Linked DNA regions of Homo sapiens: all the other regions are linked to region 1. Evidence: promoter capture Hi-C in 16 types of primary human blood cells and fetal thymus (Javierre and others, 2016). All regions are on one chromosome and are shown on one strand. The core of a region is centred on a gene start or on the middle of the fragment in contact, and the rest is flanking DNA. Distances in the headings are between cores, read along the strand shown. Region 1 holds the start of CWC22 (CWC22 spliceosome associated protein). Region 2 holds the start of NCKAP1 (NCK associated protein 1). Region 3 overlaps NUP35 (nucleoporin 35).

Region 1 (3,231 bases), core at 460-2,959:
ACAAAACAAAAAACAAAAAACAACTGGAAGGACACTTACAGGTGGAAAGGCAACATTCAGAACCAGAGAACAAGAATTGAGGAACAGAGAGAACTCATCAACTGTATCATAGTAGTAATTTACAATAATACAACGCTAACGCTGTGCTCAGTGCCTCATCTGCATTATTTTTCTTTATACTCAAAAAAAGACAATACAGTGAGGCAGGTATTGTATTACTACCTACATGTTTCCAGATGATGAAGCTGACACTAGAGACTTTAGGTAACTTGCTCCAAGTGACAGACCTAATAATAGCTGGATAAAACAGAAATCTTTGGTCTACTAGTCCATCACCCAGGACCAACACAAGTGGCTTTCCTCCACCTACTGATAACGCCTGTAACAATGCTTCTCCTCTCCTGGTCAAAACCACACTTTTAATGTCAATTTTAAATCTGCCCTTCCATAGTAGGATGATAATTTATGTTAACTCCTGAATTCACAAGCAATCCTAAAACAAGGTAAGTCTAAATACAGATAAGAGGTAGGTTAACTGATCTGCTGAGAACCAAGTTTGCTTGCTTATCTGCTATTTCGAGTCTCTGCACATCTAAAAATGCAAAGGAAACTCTTACCTAATTCTTGCATCTAGAATAGCCTTTCTCCAAATCCTGCCTTCTCCACTTACCTCAGAAGAATTGTTAGGATTAAATGGAAATAGGTACCGTGGTTTTTGCAGTTAAACTCAGTGAAATTAACTATTATATTTCCGTTATATAATGCTGTGTTGTAGGACCCAGAGCTCGTTAGAGAGGTGGAGCCTGGAGACCCAAGTTTGGCAGTTATTACCTCACTGGAGATAGTTCAAGTTATGGAAGGATCAAGAATGACAGATGAAGCGGGCACATGAGAAGCGAAGTGTCTTCAAGACTAAACACTAGACACTATCAGTATTTACAGGGCAAATAAATGAAAAAGAAGACGCTAATGAAATTTAAAACAAATAGTCAAAGGGATATAATGCCGGCAAGAGGCATAAGAGTGCAAGTAATTCAACTAACTTTTAATCAACTAGATCTCATTAATCCCACTCCCCTGACCCTGGGACCCGGGCACTAGGAAAGGGGCTTTGGCAAGCCCCAATGGACTCCAGAGGCTCTAAGTATAAAACGCAGTGCACAAGAAACAACACAGCACCAGCGTTGGTGCAGGATTTCAGACAGCTCCAGGAACTTCACAAGGAAGGTCAGCCGGTCCGCTCAGGCAGTCAGTTCATGGCAGCCCATTCCCTCCCCACCTGCTTGGACCTAGCCGCTCTCACACCCCTCTTGCGGGCCCGAGCGTAGCGAGAAGACCCACGCACACTCCAATGCCGCTCACAGCCGTATCAGTGAGCCCGCACCCACTCCTGGGGGTCTTTTACTTCCCACCCGATCCGGCGACCCGCCACCCCCACTCCGCGTCTCTGCCTGCGGGGACTCCACGGAGTTCGATAATTACCTAGAGCTCCACCGCGCCGCCATTACACCGGACGTACGTCACTTCCTCTTCCCGAGCACCGACGGTAGGAAGAAGGCGAATAGTGAAATATTTAAAAACTTGACGCTCAATTGGCTTGACACGTTATCCCTTTAATTTATTTCAAATACCATATCATAATACCAGAGTCAAAGTAGTCGATCCAGGCACACTGTCTTGTTGCCAAAATGGCGACAAAAAAGAGAAGTTGGCATGAACTACAAAGTCCGAAATCCAGCGCCTGTGCTGACGGAAATGAGGAAAGCATAATTGTAGTTTAGCGTGAAATGGCGCGGTGTACGATGGGAATTGTAGTTCATACAGATGCGCGCCAGCGAGTTAACATCCACGCTGCTCACTGGCAGCCTAGTAGTGTTCAGGGTCTAGCCGAATTTACTTTAAAACTATTTCACTGCATTTTGGGGAAATTTTTTTTAAAAAAGCAGTCAGTTGTCACTTTCCTTGAAAAATCTTAAGAGAGAGATTTTCCTGAGACTTTATAAGAGTTTGACCAACAGTTAAGTGCCTAATAAATTCCAAGATATCCAGGCCATAAGAATGGGAGAATATTAAATCATAAATAGAGTGAAATAATGAGGAAAAACTAATTCTATAGAGACTGTGTTGCCTCTCTTTTAGGTTAAGGTACCAACTGGTATGACCTGAGAATAAAGAGATTGCCTGGCTGAGTAGGAAGTAGCAGTTTGTACAGCGTGCAGAACTAGGGCATCAAACAGTTTCTTTAAACTTCACTTTTCACTAGTAACAAAACCTAAAAGTTCAACTACTTGCTATTTTGGAAACTCTCTTCCTAAACCAAGAATATCTTTATGTTATCAAATCTTTCATAAACCAGGACTGGTTTCTCCACACACTTCTCTATTACAGTTTTAGGGTGCTGTGCTTCCACTCCTTTCTGGAGGCAGAGTGTGATGATTAAGAATAAAAACACTGCAGTTGGACTACTTATTTTGAATCTTGAGTCCTTTTATTATTTATGGATGACTGGGGCAAGTAACTTCACATTCTGTGGCCGTTTCCTGATCTGTTAAATGGAAATACCAATAGTATCCATCCAGGCAGTAGTTTTAAGAATTGAATTAGTTGATACACAAGATGCATTTAAGATAATTGCTAGTATACAATAGTGTTATCTATTTTATTTCATATTTAAGATATTTGGCCATTGTTGATGGTGCATTTTGGTGCACCAATACAGGGCACAGGAGATGGATCTGGAGATGAACATTTGTATTCATATATTTAAAAACCCACAATACTACCGGTGATGGTTAATTCTGAATGTCAACTTGATTGGATTGAAGGATGCAAAGTATTGATCCTGGGTGTATCTGTGAGGGTGTTGCCAAAGGAGATTAACAGTTGAGTCAGTGGACTGGGGAAGACAGACTCACCCTTAATCTGGTGGGAACAATCTAATCAGCTACCATCGAATATAAAGCAGGCAGAAAAATATGAAAAGGCAAGACTGGCCTAGCCTCCCAGCCTATATCTTTCTCCCATGCTGGATGCTTCCTGCCCTCAAACATTGGACTCCAAATTCTTCAGTTGTGAGACTCAGACTGGCTCTCCTTGCTCCTCAAGCTTGCAGACAGCCTATTGTGGGACCTTGTGATTGTGTAAGTTAATACTTAATAAACTCCCCTTTTTATATATATATCCTTATATATAGATATATATATTAGGATATATATATAAGGATATATATAA
Region 2 (3,541 bases), core at 855-3,354, 3.0 Mb after region 1:
TTTAAACCACAATACCACAGGTCTAGTAACTTTTATAATATTTGACTTGTTCATTTTTGGACAAAATTCATATAGGAATCAATTTCCAAGTTTTTTAAGCAGCACAATCTCCCCGAACAGTTCAGGTCAATGCAACCTCTAAGTAATACTATTTAAAACTGAATTATTCCTAACCTATATAAATTTATAACCTAGGCTCCTTGGTAAATGCAGAGGGGCTTCTTTGTCATGACACTGAGCTCCTGCCACATAAAAGGTAACAAACTGAGTAAGCATGTTGCAGTTACTCTCCAGATAGCACTGGGTTTAGAGTAATAAAGCCTTGCAATTAGGTGAGCAACCAGACTTTGTCCTTATCCAAAATTTATCATCATTAAACCAGGACACTCTTTAGAATTAGTGTCTACATCAAATTGTAAAAAATAAATCAATTTTACACTCAAACGCTTGGAAATGAATTTCCAAAGAAAAAAAAAAAAACCTTTCTTCAGAAGCCCTCTCAACCTACAATCTATTGCTATGATTAAACTAAACGGTAACATTCACGATATATTAAAAAGCCAACAAATAGTTATGAAGGTATGACATCAAAGACACATTGGAAACTCGATGGATCTAAATTTTCCAAATATCTCTTTTTCTCTTTATCAAATTGTTTAAAACTTACCAACCTTGCCTTAAGGGGAGAGATTTTGTTGTTTTGTCCTACGATAATGAATGTAATTATTTGTTCTATCTTTACATGGACTTTTCTAAACTTCCAGTGGTCTTCCACTCCTTACTGTACTGAGGACATGTAAAAGCCTTTAAATGGGCCTATTAGCTATAGTTGCTCAAATTATCAGACTATGCTATAAATCAGCAGCAATTGCAACATTTTTACGGTTTTTATTTTGTACAGACACCGAACTTTAAGAAATGGTATTGGAAAATCTAACATGAGGAGGAGTACAGGGGAAAGAGTAGAAGGTTGTTATTCCAGTTCTAGTGACTCACAGCCTAGAAGTATTTCAGAAAATTGGTTCCACCCTCACTTCCCCCTCCTCTCCACCTTCAAAATGAAATAATCCCAAATCGTCAACACACTCTCAATGGCTTTTTATTTAGCAATCTAAAATAAAGTGGCAAAGTGGAGGGGATACGGGATTCATCCAATCAGCCCTTCTCTACCCACATTCCCACACCAAAAAATGGGGATGTGGGGTGTAATCCCTGTTCACTGCTGCCATCTCCGTAAGAATATGGAACACTCAAGTTTTCCTACCCACCTAGAATTTCGCCCACCCACCACCCTCCCTTTCCTATGGGCCCCATCATGGGGGCGGGGGCGCCGAGGAGGGGACAGCTCCCGGCTCCCAGCGGCGCCCCCACCCCGTGCGAGGCCCAGCGCCCGATCCCGCCGCCGGGAGCCGGGAAATGGCTTCTCTGCCTTCGGCCGGCCGGCGAACCACAGGGAGAGGCGCCCGGGACTCCGCATTAGGCCGCGGCGCATCCAGGCGACCCCGGGCCGGGCCTCGGGCGGCGACGCCGAGATTTCTACACCCGGCGCCTCCTGCCGCCCCCACCCCACGGCCTCCCTTGCCCTTCATCCCTCCCGGGCCCGCCCGCCTCCGCCGCGGCCTCCCCGGCCCGTGCGCACCTTCTTGATGTTGTAGAGGCGGGTGAGCATGCCGACGCCCCGGTCGTTGAGGATGGTGAGCTTCTCCGCCAGCTTCTGCTGACTGGGCTGCAGCACTGAGCGCGACATGGTGGTGCTGGTGCCGCCGCCGCCGCCGGCCGCCTCGCGCCCAGTCACGGGCCCGCGGCCTTCGCAGCAGCCTCTCTCGGGCCTCCTCCCCTCCCGCCCGCGACCTCCGCCTTAGGAGAGCGCGCCCATGGCCCTCGCGCCCCAATCCCGCGCCGGCGACAGAGCGAGCCGCGGCGGACTCCTCGGAGCCCCTTCTCCCGCAGCAGCCCGCGCCCCGGCAGCCTCCTGCCTTCCGCCCGCCGCCCTTCCGCCCCCACCCCCGGCGCTCTCCGCCCCAGCCCCCAACGAGCCGCCTTCCCCGGCTGCTCCACTAGGTGTGGCGGCGGCGGCGGCGGCGGCGGCGTCTCCGGCGGCTGAGAACGAGGCCGCTTCCCGCAGCCCCGGACGGGCCCTCGGTCACCTGATCGGCAGCGCCGGCGCCCCCGCGAGGCCGGACGGGGAACTGCGGCCGACGGGCCCTCGGCATGGCCTCGCCGCCGCCGCTCTGGCCCTGGCCCTGGCCCGGACCGCCCACTACGCCTGATGCCGGGATGGGAGTCCCAAGCGGGGACTGAGTGGGGTCGCGTTGTGTGCTCTTTCCACTTCGCCCCACACCCCACTCCTTCAAGTTCCCAAAAGTTGCTTTTCCGCACCACCCTTCTAAAGAAACCGGCAGAAACTCTGCTGGGAGGCGGGGTGTTTTCCAGGCGAGTTTCGCTTAAGAGTGGGCTGGTGGCTCCAAGCGCTTTTTCCTCCCACTGCTTGACAGGCGCTCGCCGCAGAACACAGCAGATGTTGTGCTCCGCGAGGTGGGGATCGCCTCTGCCAGCCTCCCCAGCCCATCCTCAGTCTCCCCGCCTGGAACCAGTTTGTGAGAGAGGAGGTCGGAAGTGAGGGTAACTCAAGTCCTTGAGATAATCACAATCTAGACTTTGTCGGCGAGGAGCACCCATCCGGAGGAGACGCAGTAGGTCCTGGCATGTGGAAGGCAAAAAATAAATGTTTGTTCAATGCCTAAAGGAACCGCTCCCATTTTTTTACAGCCTCCACCCTAAATCCCACTTCTTCTTGGAAACATTCTTCTTTGCCATCTCATTTTTCCTGATCAATTTCTTCTTAGCGACACTCCAAGGCTACTCCCTTGTCAAATGTATTAGACATGATTCCAAAAGTGAACTAACTGAGGACTTACGTAATTGAGGTGAGAAACTTCAGCCAAGAGGACTCAGGCCTCTAATATTTTTGGCTTTGCCTTTTCTCGATATGTTAATTTTTTATATTATATTCATTAATTTTAAGTCAGTAACAAAATGTCCCGCCACATTCAATAAGACATTCTAAGAGTAATAAGCCATCACTGGATTTATCAAAACTCTTTAAGAAAAGGAAATTGTAATGAATAGCTTTAAAATATTTTTTAAAGCTACTATATCTACTATTCGTAAAGAAATCTTCATTTTAATATTCCAACAAGAAAGAAGGAGTGGACTGAATGGATTTAATCTAAGGGGCATTTAAAAGAGTCCTGTTCCCACCAAAAGAAGTCATAATCATACCTGCCAGTGTGCCTGAAATTCTATATACAAAGCTGCAGTACCTTGAATGAATGCTTTGTACCTAGAGAGTCTTAAGAATACAAACACTTCAGAGAGATCATCTGTCGAGCTATTACTAGTCATTAACTGGTCAAGGAATTTAATTTATCTGGTTACTTCTCAGCCTGATAGTTAACATTTTAATTTAGAGGAGGCAAGGTTGTGGGGCCTGGAATAGTAAGGGCAGACCTGAGAAGGGGAGGCTGCGAGGAGGGGTTTG
Region 3 (3,484 bases), core at 683-3,182, 3.1 Mb after region 1:
AAATGAGATCACCTTTACTTGCAGGTAGGTGAATTGCTTAAAATAATTTTATAGACATGCTAGATACAGGGATGTCCAATTTTTTGGCTTCCCTGAACCACATTGGAAGAAGAATTGACTTGGGCCACACATAAAATACAGTAACTCTAATAATAGCTGATGAGCTAAAAAAAAAAAAAAATGCAAAAAAAATCTTAAAATGTTTTAAGAAAGTTTACCAATTTGTGTTGGGCAACATTCAAAGCCATCCTGGGCTTCATGCGGTGTTCAAGCCATGGGTGGGACAAGCTTGTGCTAGAATTTTTAAAAGTGTAGTGGTGCAGCATTCACCCTCATCAATACATTAATTAAAAAAAATTAAGCAATGTGTCTATTATAAAGCAAAGCTTTTAAGGCTCTTGGAATAGAGGTGTAAGAAGTATAAGCTATAATTTCTAGAGCCACTAAAATGTATTCTATGTTTTTTTCATTCTAAGATGCCTTTGAATTGGCTTTTAAGTACCACTAGGAAAGATAACCCTAAATATGACACAATGCTAAGATGCCATTTTTTGTAAAATTTCTGTGTCGGAGATGTCAGAGTGTGGTGGGGGAAGAGTGCCTCACAGAGTTGATGAAATACCATCATTTAGCTTCAACTGAATTCATTTAAAGTAATTCATCTTAAGATACAAGAATAGGAAATAATCGGTCAAAAGAAGTGTAACTTGAAGATGTAGATACGAATTCTGCCTTTAGTCTTAGTGAATTGAGATTCTCACATATAGCGTGTTTAAGGAAACTTGGGGGGGAGGTTTTATACACAGAATTTGTGATTGTCAGGGCAAAGTATTGTAAATGCAGCCTGTGTTTATTACAGAACTCCTTTAGCAAAGAAATACTTTAAAAAATGACTTCGAAGTTTTAACTGAGTAGTGAGAATTAGATACAGAAGTGTTGAATTCTAATTGTGAGCTAATATCCTTTAGTAGTAGTTCAAGTGAAAACTCTTTTTACCTTAATTGCCCTTTAAAGTATTTTTGCTTTAAAATGGTTTATTATTTAGGATTTATCAGGGAGAATTATAAATTATATTTGAAGTAATTCATTTAACATTAAACATTAAATTTCAAATGTGTTATTTTATTATGGTAGCCAACGTATATTGATTGCTTATGAGCCTGGCAGTATGCTAATCATTATTTTGTCAATCTTAAAGGGTAGGTAATAGTATCCCCATCTTTAAAAAGAGAAAACTGAGGCTAAATGCAATAAGTAATTTGCTGAAGCTCACTTGCTAGTAAGTGAGCGAGCGCTATAAACCTCAGGTTAGTCTTATTCCATAGACTGTGCTCTAAATAGCTTAAGCTGTACAGTCCAGGCTCAGACATTAGTCTTACCGATGGCCTGGGCTGCATCACTATTTGACATTGCATGTTCTCTGATCGATAAAGACATCTTTATGTCACAGAACTTGGTCCTTTTACTACATCTTTATTATGTACTTAAATATATTTCTACTGTGAGAAACATGAATGGGATCTACTTAATCTAGATAGTCAAACTCTACATAGGGAATTGTATTTATTCAGGAATCTACAGACTGGAGCTGTTTAGTACCTACTTTCAAGTGAGAAATGGGATCAAGTTTTGTATTTAAATGTTAAGCGTTTTGTAGAGTGAGCAAAAGTTACATGTGTTTTCTGAAAACTAAGATTTTCATTAACTACTTACTCTGAATCCTTTTATTCAGAGTGCAGTCTATGGATCAGCAGCATTGGCATTACCTGGGAGCTTATTAGAACTGTATAATCTCAGGCTTCACCCTACACCTTCTGAATCAGAGTCTGAATTTTAACAAGGTCCCCAGGTGACTGTTCAGCATATTAAAGTTTGAAAAGAACTAACAGACAAGATTTTAAGTCAGTATTTCAAAAATATAAATTTAAAAAATCTTACCAAAAAGAAGAATCCCTTTTTTTTTTTTTTTTTTTGTACACTGTAGGTGGGTCACCACCACAACCAGTTGTACCAGCTCATAAAGATAAAAGTGGCGCTCCACCAGTTAGAAGTATATATGATGACATTTCTAGCCCAGGACTTGGATCAACACCTTTAACTTCAAGAAGACAGGTAATATAAATACCCTTTTGATCCCCAATGAACAACATCATGGTTTTATGTGTCTGTTCAGTGAGAGTCAATACTTTGAAATGTTTCCCTGAAGTCTGTTTTAATGTAACTGTGTTGCACAGAATAAACATTAAACACATCATAGAATCTACTTAAATTGTGTTGATGATGAACTGTACTTAACAGTGTAGAACTCTAGATTTTCTCTCATAGGTAATTCTCAGGTGTTTATAGGTATGCCTTATCCACCTGCCCATAGCTCCAACCTACTTAATATACATGTAGAATGTGACTATGGTTTAAATCATTCTGATTGTTTAAGAAGTTTAATATTTAATATTTAAAAATTATGTGAAAGAACAAATGAAAATTTAGAGTTTCATCTAGATCTAGGGCACTCGTCAGCTGAGAAGTAGTATGGACTTGTCTTTATTTTCTTCTTTTTTTAGGGTCCCCAACAGGGTCCTGATCAGTTGCCCAGGCTAGAGTGCAGCGGCACAGTCATAACTCTGCAGCCTTGAACTCCTGGGTTCAACCAATCCTCCTGCCTCAACTGTCCTATTGGGATATAGGCACGTGCTGCTATGCCTGGCTAATTGTATTTTTTTTTGTAGAGATGAGGTCTTGCCGGATTCAGGTGATCCTTGCACCTTGACCTCTCAAAGCGCTAGATTATAAATGTGAGCCACTGTGCCTGGCCGACTTTTCTTTTAAGTAGAAAATTTAGTAGCTTCATAGACACAAGTGTTGTTTCCTATTATTATTGTGCTTAGTAGGACATATAAACAAAGTTTATCAGTTAAGTTGGTAAGTTCTTTATATAAAGATATGTCTGCTGTTTGCTTTAGATATATGTTTTATGCCTTTCCCTAAATTGTATTTAGTGAAGTTGAGAGTTCAAGAATATTAGAAAGCATTTTTCAGTGGATTCGTGCTATTTATAGGCTTGATATGTCTGGCATACTAGGCTTACTTGTCAAGTAAAGCAAAATTCATTCACTGTGGTAAACAGATTACTGTTTCTTCCCAACACTTCTAGACCTGCCTTCCTGTCCAACAGGAGCCACTAGCTAAGTGTGGCTATTGATACTAAAGATATAGCTAGTCTTTATTGAGATACACTTTAAGTATAAAATACACACCAGAGTTTGAAGACTTAGAAAGAATGTAAGGTATCTTATTTTTTTATGTTGATTACATATTGAAATGATAATGTTTTGGATGTGTTTGGCTAAATATTACTAAATTTCACCTGTTTGTACTTTTAAAATGTGCCTACTAGAAATGGTAAAATTACACGTATGGAATTTATTGTTCCTAATGGATAGATATCCTGGTCTGGGATGGTTTTCTAAAGGTTGATAAGTAAAGC

Evidence for each region. The method cuts DNA at HindIII sites, captures the fragments that hold promoters and counts their contacts. A CHiCAGO score of 5 or more calls a contact.
Region 2: a contact is called between the fragment with the promoter of NCKAP1 here and the fragment with the promoter of CWC22 in region 1, in 2 of 17 cell types (non-activated CD4 T cells and total CD4 T cells). The highest score is 7.1, in non-activated CD4 T cells.
Region 3: a contact is called between a fragment that was not itself captured here and the fragment with the promoter of CWC22 in region 1, in 3 of 17 cell types (non-activated CD4 T cells, naive CD8 T cells and total CD4 T cells). The highest score is 11.4, in non-activated CD4 T cells.

Annotation. Positions count from the first base shown.
Region 1 is chr2:180,005,588-180,008,818 of GRCh38, forward strand. CWC22 (CWC22 spliceosome associated protein) reads right to left here and starts at 1,710. Exons shown (of 20, transcript NM_020943.3): 1 at 1,280-1,710. RefSeq lists an enhancer at 858-1,390. The HindIII fragment of the contact is 3,569 bases long and covers 1-3,103 here.
Region 2 is chr2:183,036,353-183,039,893 of GRCh38, forward strand. NCKAP1 (NCK associated protein 1) reads right to left here and starts at 2,105. Exons shown (of 31, transcript NM_013436.5): 1 at 1,640-2,105. The coding sequence starts at 1,747. RefSeq lists silencers at 1,525-1,644, 1,705-2,294, 2,027-2,678. The HindIII fragment of the contact is 8,317 bases long and covers 1-3,541 here.
Region 3 is chr2:183,128,434-183,131,917 of GRCh38, forward strand. It overlaps NUP35 (nucleoporin 35), which reads left to right. Exons shown (of 9, transcript NM_138285.5): 2 at 1-24; 3 at 1,985-2,112. Among named protein-coding and RNA genes, the nearest start is that of NUP35, 5.7 kb to the left of the region's middle. The HindIII fragment of the contact is 3,097 bases long and covers 385-3,481 here.